5 separate regions of the Homo sapiens genome follow, and regions 2, 3, 4 and 5 are each linked to region 1. The links are contacts of gene promoters, found by promoter capture Hi-C in blood cells and fetal thymus (Javierre and others, 2016). All regions are on one chromosome and are shown on one strand. The core of a region is centred on a gene start or on the middle of the fragment in contact, and the rest is flanking DNA. Distances in the headings are between cores, read along the strand shown.

The links. Contacts are between HindIII fragments. The CHiCAGO score rates a contact against its expected background, and 5 or more counts as called.
Region 2: a contact is called between a fragment that was not itself captured here and the fragment with the promoter of NLGN1 in region 1, in 1 of 17 cell types (M0 macrophages). The highest score is 7.8, in M0 macrophages.
Region 3: a fragment that was not itself captured here is called in contact with the fragment with the promoter of NLGN1 in region 1 in 2 of 17 cell types (M0 macrophages and M1 macrophages); the score reaches 9.3 in M0 macrophages.
Region 4: a fragment that was not itself captured here is called in contact with the fragment with the promoter of NLGN1 in region 1 in 3 of 17 cell types (M0 macrophages, M2 macrophages and M1 macrophages); the score reaches 15.9 in M0 macrophages.
Region 5: a contact is called between a fragment that was not itself captured here and the fragment with the promoter of NLGN1 in region 1, in 1 of 17 cell types (M0 macrophages). The highest score is 6.0, in M0 macrophages.

What each region holds. Positions count from the first base shown.
Region 1 is chr3:173,396,178-173,399,827 of GRCh38, reverse strand. It overlaps NLGN1 (neuroligin 1), which reads right to left and starts at 2,084. Exons shown (of 7, transcript NM_001365925.2): 1 at 1,765-2,084. RefSeq lists an enhancer at 3,316-3,650. The HindIII fragment of the contact is 3,156 bases long and covers 472-3,627 here.
Region 2 is chr3:178,372,247-178,375,896 of GRCh38, reverse strand. All of the region lies in intron 1 of LOC105374235 (a long non-coding RNA gene), which reads left to right. Among named protein-coding and RNA genes, the nearest start is that of LINC01014, 45 kb to the left of the region's middle. The HindIII fragment of the contact is 1,517 bases long and covers 925-2,441 here.
Region 3 is chr3:176,943,215-176,946,864 of GRCh38, reverse strand. No RefSeq gene overlaps it. Among named protein-coding and RNA genes, the nearest start is that of TBL1XR1-AS1, 92 kb to the left of the region's middle. The HindIII fragment of the contact is 6,479 bases long and covers 1-3,650 here.
Region 4 is chr3:176,927,154-176,930,803 of GRCh38, reverse strand. No RefSeq gene overlaps it. Among named protein-coding and RNA genes, the nearest start is that of TBL1XR1-AS1, 110 kb to the left of the region's middle. The HindIII fragment of the contact is 1,295 bases long and covers 1,267-2,561 here.
Region 5 is chr3:176,853,306-176,856,955 of GRCh38, reverse strand. No RefSeq gene overlaps it. Among named protein-coding and RNA genes, the nearest start is that of LINC01209, 38 kb to the right of the region's middle. The HindIII fragment of the contact is 733 bases long and covers 1,650-2,382 here.

The sequences.
Region 1 (3,650 bases), core at 835-3,334:
AAACTCAGATCTCAGATTTATAACTGTATTTTATAGTTCTAGCTACTTAATTATCCTATAAAGAAAACCAGAAACAGCTAGTTTAATGTAATTTGAAGGGATATGTAGATCTTGGCACTGGATAACCATGTGAAAATAGTAAAAGCAGAATAAAATATAAGAATTTCAGAGTTGGAAGAGACTTTGGAGAGTGATCCAAGAAAGTCATCCAGGAATGCATAGGGTCATCAGGCCTTCCAACACCCTGCAAATGAAACCAATGGAGTTCTCAGCCTACCTTCTTTAAGTGTATATTTCACCTTCAACTTCAAAGCCATTCAAACATTTACATTTGAAAATATGTTATTACTAAATGTAAGTGGAAAATTTCACAAAATAAAACTATACTGAGGGAATAAAGAAAAGATTGACAGCAAGTACTTTGGGGGTGGAAGAAGGGAGACAATGGGAAGGACGGGAACTAAAGAAGCTTTTCTTACTCCACACTACTGGAACTCTAGTAGAATCTGCTGAAAGATTGACTCCCTCAATTTCTGCTTATGTTAAGAGGATTGGGAAGACTAACTGCAGAATAGCAGGCTTACAGAAAACAGTTACTTCTTTTAATCAAACCATGTAATCAGAAGGCCTGAGTAATGATTAACTTCCACTTTCTCTGTGAATCACTCAATCACTCTGCAGTGCAAGTAGACTTAGATTCATTCTCTGCCAAAGGCACAGTAAATTTAATGTTTTTGCATTTAACATTTAATATTTTAAATATATGAATGGCCCTTGCTTCTGAGCTCATTTCAAAAACCTTGTGTTCTGCTAGGTTACAATGGCTGATAGAAATGCTGAGACATTTTATAGGTTTTACACTCAAACATAGGTACACATACCCTTTCTCAGTGACATTTTAATATCTATGATCCTATTAATAATTGAGCACAATTAATGGTGAGAAATGCATTAAGACCCTGTAATTTTCATGTACAGCATGACAACTCAATTGACTTAAGCAAAAATAGTCTACCGGAGTTTGAGTATAAAAAGAGGGAAAATGAGTATATTAACTACCTGTAAAAATGCAGAGTAACAGATACTGGGTTAACTATACGAATTCACGTTTCCCAAGTGTTATATGTATCACTATGGCCCTGGAAATGCAAAAAGAAATAGTACCTTTGTGGAGGCCAACTGTTCATGATTTAGAATTATCACAAATGAATCAAATATTGGACATGTAATATCCCTCATCTCTATAACACACTAACAACCTCCTCTGGAAGAAATTATTCCCAATGCAAAATCTCAACCTAAATAATTTTAAATTCAGGTGGTTTTTCATTTCTACTCACAAGGCATTGTGTTGAGGCGGGCAGGAGTCGGTGGAGAACGGTTTAAATGTTTGGAATACCTTCTCTTCCCAGGAGAGTTTATTGCCCAATAATGCATAATATATTAGTTGCTCAACGCGGGGGATCTAGGGAGTGACATCTTGACTGGAAACACACAGATCTGAAAACCACCTCTCAGGAAACGTTGTGGGGAAGAAGAGCAACTTTCTTATCCCTGTCAAACTAACCGGCGGAACCAACCCCAGAACTAGCCGGAGGGCCTGGGGAGAGCAGAAGGCTGAAAGCAGCTCCTCTGCGCTCCGCCGAGGGTTCAGGCAAGGGTTTTCTTCTGGAGGCGGCATTGTTCCTCCATCTGCTCAGCCTCCGTATTTCGCCAGGAAACCCTCCCCGCTTTCTCGTAATCTGTTCCTTATTTCTTTTGTACCTCTCAGCCGATTTCCATGCTCTTGGTCTCTGTGGTCCCAGGGCACAGCTCTAGGGTGAAGAGCTGCAGTGACTGGGGCGCCGCTCTAAGGCTTTGGAGGCGACTGCACTCCGCCCGGGCTCTGGCAGCGTGAGCGCCGCACAGTCGCTCGCTCCCTTCTCTCCGGTCTCTCCGGCTCGGACGGGCTCTCCCGGCCTCTCATCACCCACTCCGACTCGCCTTTCCTGCCGTGTCTCCCCACGCCAGCTCCGCGCGCTCGGCGCTGGCCGCCCGGGCGCGCTCTCCGCGCCGCCGCCTGATCCTCGGCTTACAGCCGCGGCGCTCCCCCGCCCGCCCACAGGCCGGGACTCCGAATTGAAGGGTCAACCCTCCGCGGGGAGGCGGGGAGGAGCGGCGAGGAGAGCTGGGGCAAGTGGGGAGCCGCGGGTGGGGGGACTGACGGGGGAACGGGAGAGTGAGGCCAAGAAGAAAGAAGATGCATCTGCTCCGAAGACGCCAATGAAGAAAGGACAGAGGGGGCAGGAGTGGAGTGGGGGAGAGAACGCCCACCAGGAGGGTGGGCAAAACGGGCAATTTACAAACTGCCGGGGCTGGAGATGCCGCGCGGAGGAGGAAAGAGGTTAGCGGCACAGAAGAAGAAATGAGGGGAAGTTCCCACATCTCCCCAAAAGGTCACGTTTGAAAACCGTGTCCCTTGAACGGGAGTTAAACAAGCGACTGGCCATGGTGTAAAAGGTGGATTTAAAAGGAAATTTAGTGTCATGTACTTATTTAGACACGGCTTCGTCTCGCTCAACTCTGGCAAATTACCCTCCAAGTAAAATGTATTGGTTTTATGCAGAAACGGAAGGCGAATCTCCTCCACTGTGGACTCCTCCTGAGATTGGTTTGTTTGCTGGTTATCTTTCTTTTTAAATGAAAAAAAGCGTTTGGGAGCTTCCATGAACCCCAACGCTTAAAAAAAACCACCCAGTTTATTAAAGTTCATTATTTTTTATTGCTTTTATTTTCATCAGAGGATAGGGTGAGGGACTGGCATCTTCAGATGTTTAAAACACTTATTTAGGTAGCATTATTTTTTATAAAGGACACGATTTCCTAAAACCGCCAGAAAGGCTATTGGAAAACTCAGCTACTAGCCTGGGAAAGAGAGACGCATTTAAACTCAAATAGACGATTATACCTCCAGCACCCCCCACCCCCACCCCAATGGGATTGGAAAAGGGTTGAGTTTACAGAAGAGAGAGAGCAGAGAAGGGTGGGTGGAAGGTGGGGAAGGCGAAGGAGAGGCAGGGAATAGGAAGTTCTCGGCAATCCCCGGGATTAAGGTAAACGCCGGAGCTCGGCGGACGCAGGAAGCTCCCTTACCTTTCTCTCTAAGCCCCGTTTGCACCTGATCTGCAACCATAAATACTTCGTGGTGCTTAGTGTGCAGCCAAACGATGGCCAAATGTTAAACAATTCTTCACGCTCCCTCCCCCTTTTAAAAAACAGGCTCAAAAGAATGTTAATAGTGTTCTTGTTATCCATCGGCTCCAAAACATTCCGTTTCGTGGGGAGGAGAGACGAAAACCAGGCCCTTGGGCACGCGTATATGTATTTATATATTATGCGGTCGGTATATAAACATATATACGTTTCCTGCATGTAAATCCAAAATGAAAAGCACCACAGATGCTTCTGTAAACGGGAGGGGACAGCGAAGAGCAAAACTTGGCAAGCCAAATGTATCCAGAGATTTCGTACCAGGAGCCACCTGCTTCAATATGCAGAATTTCCGAGAAGATTTAGAGGGAGAAGGAAAAAAATTAAAAATAAAATACCCAAAACACACACTTGAAACTGGAAGACACCTATGAAGCTTGGAAATGGAGAGGATGAGAAGA
Region 2 (3,650 bases), core at 434-2,933, 5.0 Mb before region 1:
ATGAATCTGGGTATGTTATTTTTGCTCAAATATATGAAAGAACACTGAGTTCTCATTATGACTATGTATGGGAAACCATGGCACTTGCACACAATCAGGGATGCCAGTTTGGCTCATTGATCTGTAAGATCCAGGTCCAGGTCAAAGATGTGATGAGGGCAACAGATGTTTGTGAGGAGTCTTCTTACATGAGGAGATGGACAAAGTCGTAGTTCTATTGGGAAAGGAGAAGTCATACACCAAGCGCTCCAGGGACAAGATACCAACCTTGTTGCTGAGAGCATTTTTGCCAGTCCTGCCAAGGGCCCCTAGTCTGTTGTTTTTACAGAACTGTCTGTGTATTGGTGATGTGTACTCAGGAGCATCATATAGTTCAGCTATATGATGGTCAGATCTAGAAGAGGGGCTATAATGTCGCCAGCATTAGGGCCCCTGTGGAGAATATATGTACCAAATGGGAAAGAATGGCACAAAAGGAGGATTTGTTCCTCCTTTCATGTCATTCTTTTTCATTTTGTATGCAGTTTCTGAGAGTCCACACTGTAACAATGAATCTCATGACGAAAGATGTTCTGGGGCTATACAGTGTAAGCACTGTGGGAAGATAGGTGCTGGCTCTCTGTAATATGCAGCACCAGGATTTGCACAACCTCACATTGTCATCACTATTGTACAGTAAACGGATAAATCCTCAAATTAGGATTTTATTAGAGTATAAATATGCCCTGGGAGGAAATCATAGCCTCGTGGAATGCTTGGGGTGAGTGCTGCTCATATCACACTGTCTATGGAATCAGAAAAGTTACCTTAACTGCCCCAAAGTGGCAATCTTTTGAATATACAAAATGAGGTGAATTTAAATTACCATACCACCCAATCCATCTAAATTAGAATCTGAAATTGGTAATGCGTCTCCCTTAAGCTTCTAATTAATTTCCATAATGTAGTTTACTCATAACACATTCTAAACAGCCAGGTATAATCTGTCTCATCCAATTTCCTTGGGGTTTTAAACATTCTATGTAAAAATATGAAATACTTATCGGTTTCCCTGGGCTTACCTTTCAATTTTCCTACTATTTATGTATTCAGAAAGTTTGATGAAGTCAGGTATAAGAGTGACACAAGACAGAGTTAAATCCAATTTCTCTCTATTCCACACAAACTGGTAGATATGGCAGCACCCAGCTAAGTGGATAGGAATTCTAGGTGATGTTCTTTTCATTAAGCAGTTATGGCTCGCTAGCATGTCTTGTCTTTTAAGGTGTATGTATTAGGCTATTCTTGCATTGCTATAAAGAAATAAAGGGATACCTGAGACTGGGTAAATTATAAAGAAAAGCATTTTAATTGGCTCAAGCCTCTGCAGGCTGTGAAAGCATGGAGCCAGCATCGGCTTGGCTTCTGAGGCAGGCCTCAGAGAGCTTTTACTCACTGTGGAAGGCAAGTAGGAACAGGCATGTCACATGGTGAGAGCAGGAGAAAGAGAGAGAACACAGGAAAGTATTACACTCTTTTAAACAACCAGATCCTGCAAGAACTCACTCATTATTGTGAGGACAACATCAAGCCATGAGAGATCTGCCTCCATGACCCCAAAACACCTCCCACGGGCCCCACCTCCAACACTGGGTACCACATTTCAACATGAAGTTTGGGGGGACAAATATCCAAACCATATCAGTGGGGTTAGAAACACATACTGATGTCTTTAAACTAGATCCTGAAGTAAGTGTTTCACCCAACCCACATGCTTGTTAGTGTGAACTCTAGTTCCATGGACTGTAGCCATAATTGTTTGGCACGTGATCATCTAGTAGAGCATGTGAATCAGAAGGATATGAAGAAAGCATGGACCATAACAGCCTCACCATCTTTGGCTGAATATTCACTGTGTGTAAGGCACTGTCCTAGCCATAGCATATCTTAGTACCATTCACAACAACTCCAAGAGGCAGGTAGTTCAGTTATTTTTATTTTATGTATGAGAACTATGAGGCTAGTTTGTTTAAATAATTTTCCCAAGGACAAGTTGCAAGATGGATAGAGAGCACAAATAATCTGATTGTATACCCATGTCCTTGGCCATCATCTGTTTTTCAGTTGTTTTTTAGTTTGTTTTAGCTTTTGTTTTTGTTTTTTGCCTCCAGCCTTTAGACATTTCATTGTTTGATCTGTTTGTCTAATAATCTGGCTACACCTCTGTCTGTCTCATCTAGACTCTTAGAGAAAAGAAACCTAGCTATTAGTAAACTGGTCATCCACGATTTCCTGGTGCAAAGAGTCTACTCAAGCATTAATCAAAAGCCGGGTAAAACAAAGCTAAACAGAACAAAAATATCAGACTGAAGTCTTATCCTTGAACCATTGATCAAAGAAGACACATTTTGTGCTTTCGTATATTTTCTTTTATCCTGAAGTTTCTTCTTCCAGGAGAAGCTTCCTGAAGAGATGTACAGATATGCAATTTAGAAAGAAGAGTAAAACATACAGTTTTCTAGGAAGAGAGCATATTTTTAGGAAAGGCTTCTCAGTTTGATATATGAAAGTCAGTTTGGATCTTGATGAATTATGCTCAACATAATTTGCAATTAAGATACTTGAAAATAATCAACTTAAATAAATCTTGTATATGAAGCAATATAATATAGTGATCAAAATCATGGAGTCTAGCAGCCCGAATTCAAATCCCAGATATGCCACTATTTGTGTGGCCTTGAGCAATTCATTTAAACTGTATAAGACCTTGTTTCCTCCTGTATAAAATGAAAATCATCATATTTCTACTTCAAAAGGCATTGAGGAATTAAACCACATGTTTAAAGTTCGTAGCAGAGTTCCCATGTAATAATGAACAATCAATAAATAATGGCCATTATTATATGGAACTTTAAGATATCTGGGGTAATGATAAATCATAGGGTCATAATTATATAGGTATTAATTATAGCCATGAGTTTGGGTTATTTCTTTAGGGCTTATCATATAGTAAAAGAAACAGAGTGGTAAGGGTAAACCAGTTGGGGTGGGAAGATGAGAAGTAAACAGCCCATGAGGAAGATAAGAGGTGACTGGAGAAAGGAAAACTAGAAGCTTAGGAAAGAGAGACTTTACAGAAAAAGGAGATTAACAGCACCAAAGGAAGTCCAGCAGTCTAGTAAGATGAGAAAAAAAAATAGTCCATTGATTTTTGGCAGTTATGTATGTTATGATAACTTGAAAACTGTGGGTAGAAATGATATTCTGAGTGTGGATGACAAGTGAAGTTATGACACTTGAGAAGGAGGAGGGTTGGCAGCTAAAGGGGCCAAAGGAAAGGTTTTGTTATTGTTGTTGTTGTTACTGTTAGTTTTGTTTTTCAGGTGGGAAAAATGCATGTGCTGAATGGCAAAGGGCCAGTACTAGTAAGAGACTGGTTTGAAGGAGAAAGTGGGTTGCAAGCCCTTGAGGAGATTGATGGGCTGCGATACAGAGCTCAGTTTCATTCACATACTTGTTTCTTGTTATTCTACAAGCGCAAGAATTTACTTCTTATCAGACACCAAAACCTGTGCTGGAGACATTGTGGCAAACCAGACATATGTTACTCTTATTGTCATGGAGCTTCTACTTTATATTCTGGATTTTATTCTAAGTCCAATGAGAAGAAT
Region 3 (3,650 bases), core at 595-3,094, 3.5 Mb before region 1:
ATTTTGTTTTGCTAAGTAGGCCCTCATGGATAAACGGATGTGTAGCCTGACTTTCAGGCTCACTGGGATGTTTTGAAAAGCCACTACATTTCAAAGATGCAGAGTAGTGTGGTGAACAAAGGTATGTGTGGTTTTTGAAGTTGCAGGGAACTGTGTTTTAGTCACAGATTTACTACTAGTAGTACCATTACTACTACTACTACTACTAATTATTATTATTTACCTTGGGCAAAGTGAGTTGAGGGTAACGTGTAGATTATAACACCTGTTTCCTAGAGTTACTGTGAAGATTATATGAAATATTGCCGCTAAAGTGCTGGCACTTGGTAGGTCACGTGTTGAATTGCCGTTAAGGGAACGCTGCTGAAACTCCCTTTACTTGTGAGATTTAAAAAAACTGGCTGAAATCAGTTGGAAGCCATATGGCCAGCCCGAGTCTGTACAGAATGAGCTTGCTGACGTCACAGCCCGAATTTCCACCATGTTTCATACTAATTCCCCCTGAATTTGCACATGTGTTCCACGAGGTAGCATGAAGAGATAACTGTGCATGCCCGAGGACTTTCTAGACCTCTCCTTTCCTTCCACCATCACCTAGTAATCTCAGAACCCATCCCCTGAAACTTTTCTAATGAAATGACTGCCTTAGAGCCAGCAAGGAGAGACAGATTTGAACTGCACTCTTGTCTCCTTGTTGGTTGACCTACAATAAAAACTTTTATTTTCTCAAAAACCCAGTACCGTAGTATTCATTTCTAGTGCATCAGGCAGCAAGCCCCTTTTGCTCGGTAATAACAGGTACTTGCAGCTATCACACCATCAAGCATCACCATCAACATTGTCCACCATCCAATCAATCTTGTCTTCTCAGTCCCATGAGCAAATTAAATCAATTCCTGAATCACTCCTTCCTCATTCTGTTTCATCTTTTAAACCAGCAGTCCCCAAACTTTTGGGCACCAGGGACTGGCTTCATGGAAGACAATTTTTTCCATGGATGGGGGGTGGGTTGTGGGGAAGGGATGGTTTTGGAATGAAACTGTTCCCCCTGAGATCATCAGGCATTAGTTAGATTCTCATAAGGAGCGGGCAACCAAAATCCCTCGCATGTGCAGTTCACAGTAGGGTTCGCGCACCTGTGAGAATCTAATGCCACTGCTGGTCCGACAGGTGTTGGAGCTCAGGTGGTAAGGCTGGCTGGCTCACCTGCTGCTCCTCTCCTGCTGTGTGGCCCGGTTCCTAACAGGCCAGTTCCTAACAGGGCCTGGGCCTGCTGTACAGGGGTTTGGGGATCCCTGTTCTAAGCCACACATGTTCTTCTAGCTATAGAAGAACCTCACCCTTACTGCAGGAATACGCCTCTGTTCCACTTTATGGTTGCTTAGCAACTGTGCTGTTTCTTTCTTTCTTTTCTTTTCTTTTGAGATGGAGTCTCGCTCTGTCACCTGGGCTGGAATGCAGTGGAGTGATCTCGGCTCACTGCAGCCTCCACCTCCCAGGTTCAAGCAATTCTCCTGCCTCAGCTTCCCTAACAGCTGGGAGTACAGGCGTGTGCCATCACATCCAACTAATTTTTGTATTTTTAGTAGAGACGGGGTTTCGTCATGTTGACCAGGCTGGTCTCGAAGTCTTGATCTCAGGTGATCCCCTACCCTCTGCCTCCCAGTGTTGGGATTACAGGCGTGAACCACCCAGCCCAGCTGTTTCTTTTTTTTAAAGCTCTGGGAAGTCTTTTATTTTATTTTATTATTTCAATAATTTTGGGGGGGAACATTATATTATTCTTTTTGTTGGTTTGTTTTTTGTTTTGAGACAGAGTCTCATTCTGTCACACCCAGGCTGGAGGGCAGTGGTGCAATCTGCTGCCTTCACCTCCCAGGTTCAAGAGATTTTCATGCCTCAGCCTCCCAAGTAGCTGGGATTACAGGTGTTCATCACCATGTCTGGCTACTTTTTGTATTTTTAGTAGACAGGGTTTCACAATGTTTTCCAGGCTGGTCTCAAACTCCTGGCCTCAAGTGATCCTCCCCACTAAGCCTCCCAAAGTGCTGGGATTACAGGCATGAGCCACCACACCAGCTGAGAGTCCATTATATCATTCTTATGCCTTTGCATGCTTATAGCTTAGCTCCCACTTATAAGTGAGGACATACAATGTTTGGCTTTCCATTTCTGAGTTACTTAGCACAATGGTCTCCAACTCCATCCAGGTTGCTGTGAATGCCATTGTTTCATTCCTTTTTATGGTTGGGTAGTATTCCATGGCATATATATACCACATTTTCTTTATCCACTCATTGATTGATGGGCATTTAGGCTGCTTCCATATTTTTGCAATTGTGAATTGTGCTGCTATAAACATGCGTGTGCAAGTGTCTTTTTCATACAATGACTTCTTTTCCTCTGGGTAGATACCCAGCAGTGGGGTTGCTGGATCAAATTGTAGTTCTACTTTTAGTTCTTTAAGGAATCTCCATACTGTTTTCCATAGTGGTTGTACAAGTTTACATCACTACCAGCAGTGTCCAAGTGCTCCCTTTTCACCACATCCATGCCAATGTCTATTATTTTTTGATTATGGCCATTTTTGTAGGAGTAAGGTTACGGTATCATATTGTGGTTTTGATTTGCATTTCCCTGATAATCAGTAATGTTGTGCATTTTTTCATAAGTTTGTTGTCCATTTGTATATATTCTTTGAAGAATTGTCTATTCATGTCCTTAGCCCATTTTTTGATGGGATTATTTGTTTTATTTTTCTTGTTTATTTGTTTGAGTTCCTTGTAGATTTTGGATATTAGTTTTTTGTCAGATAGATGGTTTGCAAATATTTTCTCCCACTCCGTGAGTTGTCTGTTTACTCTGCTGTTTATTTCTTTTGCTGTGCAAAAACTTTTTAGTTTAATTAAGTTCCATCTATTTATCTTTGTTTTTTTGTGTTTGCTTTTGGGTTCTTGCTCATGAAGTCTTTGCCTAAGCCAATGTCCAGAAGATTTTTTTCCAATGTTATCTTCTAGGATGTCTATAGTCTTAGGTCTTAGATTTAAGTCTTTGACCCATCTTGAGTTGACTTTTGTATGAGGTGAGAGATGAGGATCCAGTTTCATTCCTCTACATGTGGCTTGCCAATTATCACAGCTGCTGCCCTATTTTCCGACTTTTTCTTATATCTGCCTTTTCTCCCCAGTGAAGGCTCTGGAAGGCAGGAACTTGCCTCACCCTTATATTTGTCTTCGTCAGCTCTTTACCTAGTAAAGTCTATATAATAGGAGATTATATATAATGATGAATAAAAACATGTGCAAATTGTTATGTGTATTCACTTGGTGATGTAGGTGCACATGGATTCACAGACAAAAATGTAAAGTTGGGAAAGGTCTTTGAACCCATTGATTTTGTCTTGTGTTTAATAGGTGGGGAAACTGAGACCCAGAGAAACGATAGACATTGAGAGAGTTTTACTGTATGTTCCTGTTGTCATATAAATATATGTGCGTGTATATATATGTGTGTGTGTGTGTACATATATGTATGTGTATATATATGTGTGTGTGTGTGTATATATATATATATATATGTATGTGTGTATATACATATATATTTGAGACAGGCTCTTACTGTGTTGCCCAGGCTGGAGTTCAGAGGTGTGG
Region 4 (3,650 bases), core at 665-3,164, 3.5 Mb before region 1:
CCCACTCCTGTGTTTACAGCAGGATTGGGTGACATTTGAGATGTAATTTCTTCCAGGAAACTTAGAGACTTTGGGTTATGATGGTGATCTCAATAGGAATACATTCTACCCAAGAATGACTATGGTAACATGGTAAAAATAAGCTCTTGCTCTCACAACAGCAGATGATAGAGGAGGGTTAAAAATTCTTGCCACAATGGTGCCTACGCCTCCAAGAAAAAATTCTAATCTGCTTTGCATACATTTAACTTCAATAAAACTTGCATTAGGGAATAAATTTTATGAATGTGCGAGAAATAAAATGACTAGATTCAATTTTAATATAGTAAAAATAACTTTTTGAGTGTTTACTCTTGCTAGAAATTGTTCTAGATACTTTCCATGTGTTATCTCATAACAGCTCAACTTAGTAGGGACGTTTGTTCTTCCCCTGCTCCAGAGGACTAAACTCGAGGCACTCTCTCTGAAAGTTTGAGTCTACTTGGAGTGAATACAAATGAATTTAAAACTATTCTGAAAGTTTACTGGGCTTAAGATCATGCTTAAGCTCACTTCTTTCCTTTAGCTACATTGGGGATTCCTTCAATCTAGAAACCTCTGTCTCCTGGAGCTGATTCTTTTTTTGTGTGTGTGTGAGACAAGGTCTCACTCTATCGCCCAGTCTGGAGTGCAGTGGCATGATTTTGGCTCACTGCAACCTCCGCCTCCTGGGTTCAAGCAATTCTCATGCTGCAGCCTCCCAAGTAGCTGGGATTACAGGCGTGCACCACCATGGCCGGCTAATTTTTTTATTTTTAGTGGAGATGGGGTTTTGCTCTGTTGGCCAGGCTAGTCTCGAACTCCTGGCCTCAGGTGATCTGCCTGTCTTGGCCTCCCAAAGTGCTGGGATTACAGGTGTGAGCCACCGTGCCTGGCTGAGCTGACTCTTCTTGGTATCACCCCTCCTGGGTCCTGACCAACTCTCTTTCTCCAGAGATCCAGATTCTCTGAAGTTAATTAATAGCCCCTTCTATCACTATGAGAGGGAGGATAATACAACTATGAATGATGGCTTCAGCCTTCTAATGGGCAGGTGGCTAGTGTGTAATCTGCTGGTGGATTAGATTCATTGGAGATTTCAACAGGGAGGTTGTAGGATTGTAGGGCAGCCCTTATAATATCCATCAGCTCCCTATTCTTTGGTATGTGATATCTGCTGCAATGATAGCTTCAAGTTCAAAGCAGACTACCACCTTTAAGACCCTCTTATCTAAACATACTGAAGCTTCCCCTGCTGGGTGTCTGGAGAGGAATGGTGTTCAGTCTTTGGGTAGATACATATTGCATAGGGAAAGTAAATACGGTGCAAGTGAGCGTGGCTTGATGGGAATTAAGCTCCAAATAATAGAGCAGAGCAGAACAGTGGCAGCGGTCAAGGATATACTTGATGAAAGCTACAAATGTAACAAGCAACATCTGCAGTATGGAGAGGAGGAAAGATGGCAGCTGGTAAGGATTTGCAACTAGGGCAGCAAAGCCCAGACAGGGAGTAAATTCAGAGGGAAGCCCCCAAATTTTCAGTGATGTACGAAAAACAGCTAAAAGCAAAGTAGAGATAATGGCCTAGATATCACTGCTTGGAAAGGATTTATTTTCTGTTTGAGAGAGAATAGTGGTCAAAACTAAAATCACATTTGTTTGCTTTATTTAACTGAAGGATTCTATTTACTAGTATAGTCAATGCAGTTTATAATTTAGCAATGAAACACAATAAGTTTTTCTTAAAGAAATCTTTTTGGGTTCTATATTTTGAGTAAAAACCATAGCTAGCTACTGTGAATTATATCAGATTTACTTGAATCTGAGCAATTACTCTTTAGTTATTGGACCAGTGTCTAGCCTGGGAAGGACTTCCCTTGATCTTGTGTCCCTGGTTCCCTTCCCCCTTGAAGACAGGAAAGAAGGTCTTGAAAATGTAGTAAAACACCACCAGAGAGTTGGATTATTTTCCAATATTGAACATGGAAAACTGCAAGTTGCTGTTTAGACAAGATAGTATTCTATTTGCTTGAGTTGGGGCAGAGAAATTTGCTGGAGGTGTGTTTGTTTAATGTAGCTATTGGAATCTTTGGCTTATACTACTTAATTTCATAGCTGGGAATGTGGTATTTCCAGTAATTTGCAAGAATATGTCAGCTAAGCATTGCCAGATCTTATGGCAGGGATGAAATTTACGTGTATGATCAGAGTATTCCACCTGAAACACTTAACCCATTAGGACTAGAATATTTTTTCTTTTTTTTTTTTTTTGAGACATAGTCTCACTCTGTTGCCCAGGCTGGAGTGCAGTGATGCAATCTTGGCTTACTGCAAGTTCCGCCTCTTGGGTTCATGCCATTCTCCTGCGTTAGGACTAGAATACTAAATAACCAGTTTAAATATGCTTTGTTGGCTATCAGTTTATTTTATAAACTGCTTTAAAACTTCATGTGAAATATATATATTTAAAGACACAACATGCTAAAGAAATAAGTGGTAGGAAAACCCAAATGCAATCTAAGACTTCTGTTTACAGATAAGCTTTAGCAAAAATATTTATTTTTTCCCCTCCTATTTACATTCTGTGCTCTACTTAAGTACTCAAAATATTCATGAGTTTGGAACAGTGGGTGCCTGTTATACAGTTTTTTTATGAAGTGCATTTGTTATGCAAATTGTTATAGTGAACCATCCTTCATGAGCTATTTATGTTCATTTTAATAGAAGAAGTACCCTGTCTCATTCCATATAAATTCCTCTTTACAATCTATCAAATGCAGAAAGATGCTTGAGATTAAATAAATTTGTTACTAATATTAGTGAATATCTGATGCTTGAAATATTTAAGAGACTTTTTGGACATTTTTAATTACACTCCTCTAATTGCTCTGGGAATTGGCAAAGAGGATGAATGATAGGTAGTGCTTCAGGCAGTTGTCTCCATGGTCCCTTGTTCCACTCATAAGGATGACTTATTTTATAAGGAGATACAGGTCAGTAAGCAGAAAGGAGAAGCATTAAAAAGGAGGTGGCTCTCTAAGAGACAGTGATGCAAGCATTCGTTTCTCTATTCATTTAATGTTTTAAACTTTGCTAGAGACACAAAGTAGACATGGTTCCTACCTTCAAAATGCTGACCGTCTAGTCAGGGAGTTAGGTGTGTGATAGCATGCATTCTTCTTGCTATCTCCCCTTAACTTTAGCTGTTTGTACAGAAAATATGTTCTTTGCCCCCATAGATTCTCCATGCCTGCCAAGAGCCTTTGGTCATGTCAGGCCAGTGCCCAGCTCTTTGGTCATCCAGATACATGAAAAGGGCAGAGGGTGAAACTGTGGGGCGTGACAGGAAAGGGGAATTCCCTGAGTTACAGGAACTAAACAGATGTATTTGATTAAATGTTGGGAGAGAACAGAGGAGAGAGTGGGCATGAGGTAAAGCTAAGATGGTGAAGAGTTTCGTTTGTGTTTGTGGTGGGTGGTGCAGAGTATTTTAAAAGGGGCTTCAGAGAAGCCAGAGAGAGAGGCTATGAGAGAAATGCGGAGGAGAAAGAAACGGAATTGAGAAGTGGTGCCCTTTCTTATAAGTTAGATTCCCTTTTAACGCTGTTAGAAGAGTACAAGTAAAGTGTAGA
Region 5 (3,650 bases), core at 767-3,266, 3.5 Mb before region 1:
CCCTAGGGCAAATTTTAGGATTTTGAATTGTCTCACTTAATTGCCTTAGTTTGCAAAATGTCTATGACTTTTTCTGCAAATAGAACAGAGGGGAACCACTCTACTGTTATGTTTAAAGGACATGGGGGAATCTAAATATTAAATTTTAATCTAATTCTTCCCCTGCTTGCTAATTTGCACAATGTTTGAGCTATCTGAAGGCATTCTTAGAAATGGGTATTTGACATGGTATTCTAATTTTTCAAGCAGCCTTGCAATGAAAGTATACCAGGCAGCATCTTTCCTTTAGTGGCCCTCACCTCCATTATCTGGGTTCAGATGAGTGCACAACCAAGAAAAGGAGCTGCAGAGCTCATGTTAAACCTATTCATAAATAATATACCTATCCATTCCCTACCCCCTGCTTATATTTTTACAGAAATACCATGCAGTCAATTATGTTTAAAGTCTTTCTAAAGCTGTGGGGAGACATTCTATCCTACTGACTCTGAGAAGTCCAGAGCAAACAGAGAAAAGAGGAAAAAGGAAGTGGCTGAGAAAGTGTTTTGTAGATGTACTTTTTTTTTGTAATTAATATTACTTAAAAAGATTAGAGTATGTTTGAACTGACGAGGACTGAAGTCATTAAGTACCAAGCTTTGAAGAGAAGATGGCAGAGATAGAGGAAAGGGGACATATGTTTGGCTTCCTTCAAGGCAGTATTCAAAGAAGCCTGTAGGCAGTGAGTTACAGGAGTTTAAGAAATATTTCCTAAGGGAAACTATGAAGGTCTTTATTTCCTATAAAAATCTACAATGTGTACACTTCTGAGCCTGCAAGATGTTTGTCTTCCTGCCAGAGGCTCTGACCAATTATGTGAGCTGTCAATTCTCTTCCTAGGTCACCTCAGTAGATGTTTACCTGTCACCTATGAGCTGCCAGGCCTCAGGCCTGTGTCAACATCATCTAGATAAGAGACTGCATCAAGATGAATAAGAATTTTTCCTTCCCTTAAAAAGTTGATGTTCCTACAAAGGAGGACACATAGAGGCTCAAGGCTTTCTAAACTCTAACCGGTTAGAGATGATGAGTGATTTCTAGTCAGAAGGGAAGAAATAAAGACTAAAGGGAGAACAAAAGAAAGTTTTAATAAAGAGTGAAAGATAAATACTACTAGCAAGTGGAAGATTCTGACACTGGAGAAAGCAGGGAATATTACTTTAGCTTGAGTTATACTATGTGTATGGGACCCTTCCCAGAAAAGGGGAATTTGGATCTTATGAAGAAATGGTAGCAGCTCATATTCCACAGATCAAGTGGCACAATTACTAAGTCCTAGTTTATATAGATAAGCCTGTTACAAGGTCAAGGAAGGAGATGCTTAATGTTGTTTTGTATCTTCTTTTTCAGGCTACAGAGTTAGCTGTACGGAGTTAGTTTTAGGTAGATTTAGTATAGTAAATTGGATGGTGTTCTGTTTTCCTAGAACAGGTATGTGAGAACTGACCGAGTTGTCACAAATCTATCAAATCACACTGATCATTATCTCATTTTGTTGATTCATGAGAGGTTGACTGTGTTTATCAGAGAAGATTCGTGGTAACAATGGTATAGAAGTCTTATAAGAAACGGAATAACTTGGGTAAACTTATTGCCTTAGGATGAAAGCTTAGATACATATTAAAATTACATTTGCTTACTTGAATCCACCCATTAGAGGGTGGGGAAATTGTCTCTTTTTACTATTCTAATCCTTACCAGACCACATTGTACAAAGTGTTTTCTCAACAGATGTCTGTTGAAAAAATACATGAACGAGGAAAATGTTGATGTTCAGTGGATGTTGCATTTGAAATAGAATTTAGATTTTTGAGCTATAACTTAAGACCCCAGAATGATAGGATTTTGGCTAGGGTAGGAACACAGTTCAAAATTATTTGAGTGAAATTTAAACTGAATATACAGGGGAAGAAGATAAGTAATGAAATACACTGATGTAGAGCATGATTTTGCAGAATGCAAATAGTAGGAGGGAATGTAGGAGATGCTTATGATTTACATGGAAAATCAGTAATGGTACCAAAAGCCAAAATTATAGCCTCCAACACATATACCACTGTAGAACATTAGAAATTAACAAGATATTGAGCGATTTTAATTTATGGCAAGAGGTTTGTATACATTCACAGTTATCATTGAGATTAATTGAGATGTGATTCAAAATTAAAAGATGGTGATGGAATCTCTTTAAAGAGGGCAGACATTTTTGAAAATCAATTAGAGAAATAGTTATATTTATGTATCAAGGGGCCATAAACTAGTGTAGAAACTCATGATGTGAGATTATAGCTGAGGAAAATAGAAATAGAAATCTGAAATTGTTGGGAGAGTGTTCTCCAAGCTTTCTGGCCAGAAGGAAGAAAGAGATGATATACTTTTGACAGAGATCTGAAAGATGACCCTATGCCAGGCCAAAGTCATGATTGAGGGATTTCAATTAAGACATCTCCTAGAATCTCAACCTGCAAAAAATTTGAGTGTGTGTAAGCTCATGACATTCTTTGATAAGCTGTTAACAATCTCCTGAAAGATAGGCCATTAGGGAAACAGTTCCTTTTGGTCTGACTCCGAAATATAGGATACATTTATTGGCAAAGTGAGAGGAACAGAAGCTTTGGGGAAAGTCACTATAATATTTTAGAATTCATCATATTCATTGAGGGGAAGCCTGCTATGGTTGACCATGTGCTACAGACTTCAAGAGGGTCAGTGTAGAAAATATCAAGGAAAACATAGGCATGATTTCATGGCATTCTACATTAAAGGGAAGATGTCAACAGCTTTGGGAAGTTGTTCGAAATGCCATTTTGATTCTGTATACTGTAAACCATTTATCTCATAAAAATTAGGGGGAAATTTTGCTGGCACAGTGGTGCACACCCAGCTACTCAGGAGGCTGATGTGGGAGTATCCATCCCCTGAGGCCAGCTTAAGCAACATAGCAAGAACCTGTCTCTTAAAAAATAAAAATTAGTGGGAATTGTGAACTCAGAGTTTTGAGAGATATGTGATTTAAAAAGTACAAATTAATGATAAAAAATCCTAGAGTGGTCCACATGTGTAAGAATAATGTCCATAAAGTTGAAGGGTACTCAAGTTTGTGAAAAGTGCCACTGACAATAAAATGGGATTTCTTCATTATATTCAGAACAAGAAACAGATCGAGGAAGAGGCAGAGTAACAACAGCCGGGAAGAAGATACAGTTTTGTAAGTGACCCTGTAAATTTCCTTGTATCATCTTTGTTAAAATTGATCTTCATATTAAAAAGAGTGGGGCAAACATTGAAATGAAGGATGCAAACTCAAAACAAAAAAGATGAGGGAGCATTAGCAGTTCAGATTTCAAATCTTATGAATGACATCTTAGGTTACTCAGAAATTTCAAATGAATTAATTGAATGGCTATTTGTTATTGCAGAGAAATTGTGGAGACTGGGCAAGATGTGGGGGACAAAAGTCAAGCAATTATCAAAAAATTTTGTAAGAGAAGGGTGATGTCTGCAAACAAAATGCCCAATTCTGTCAATACTTAGCCATAATTATTGTTCATCAATGGGAAACTCTCCTCCCCTTTTTGTTAGTAATTTTAACACAATCTCAGTTATGTAAT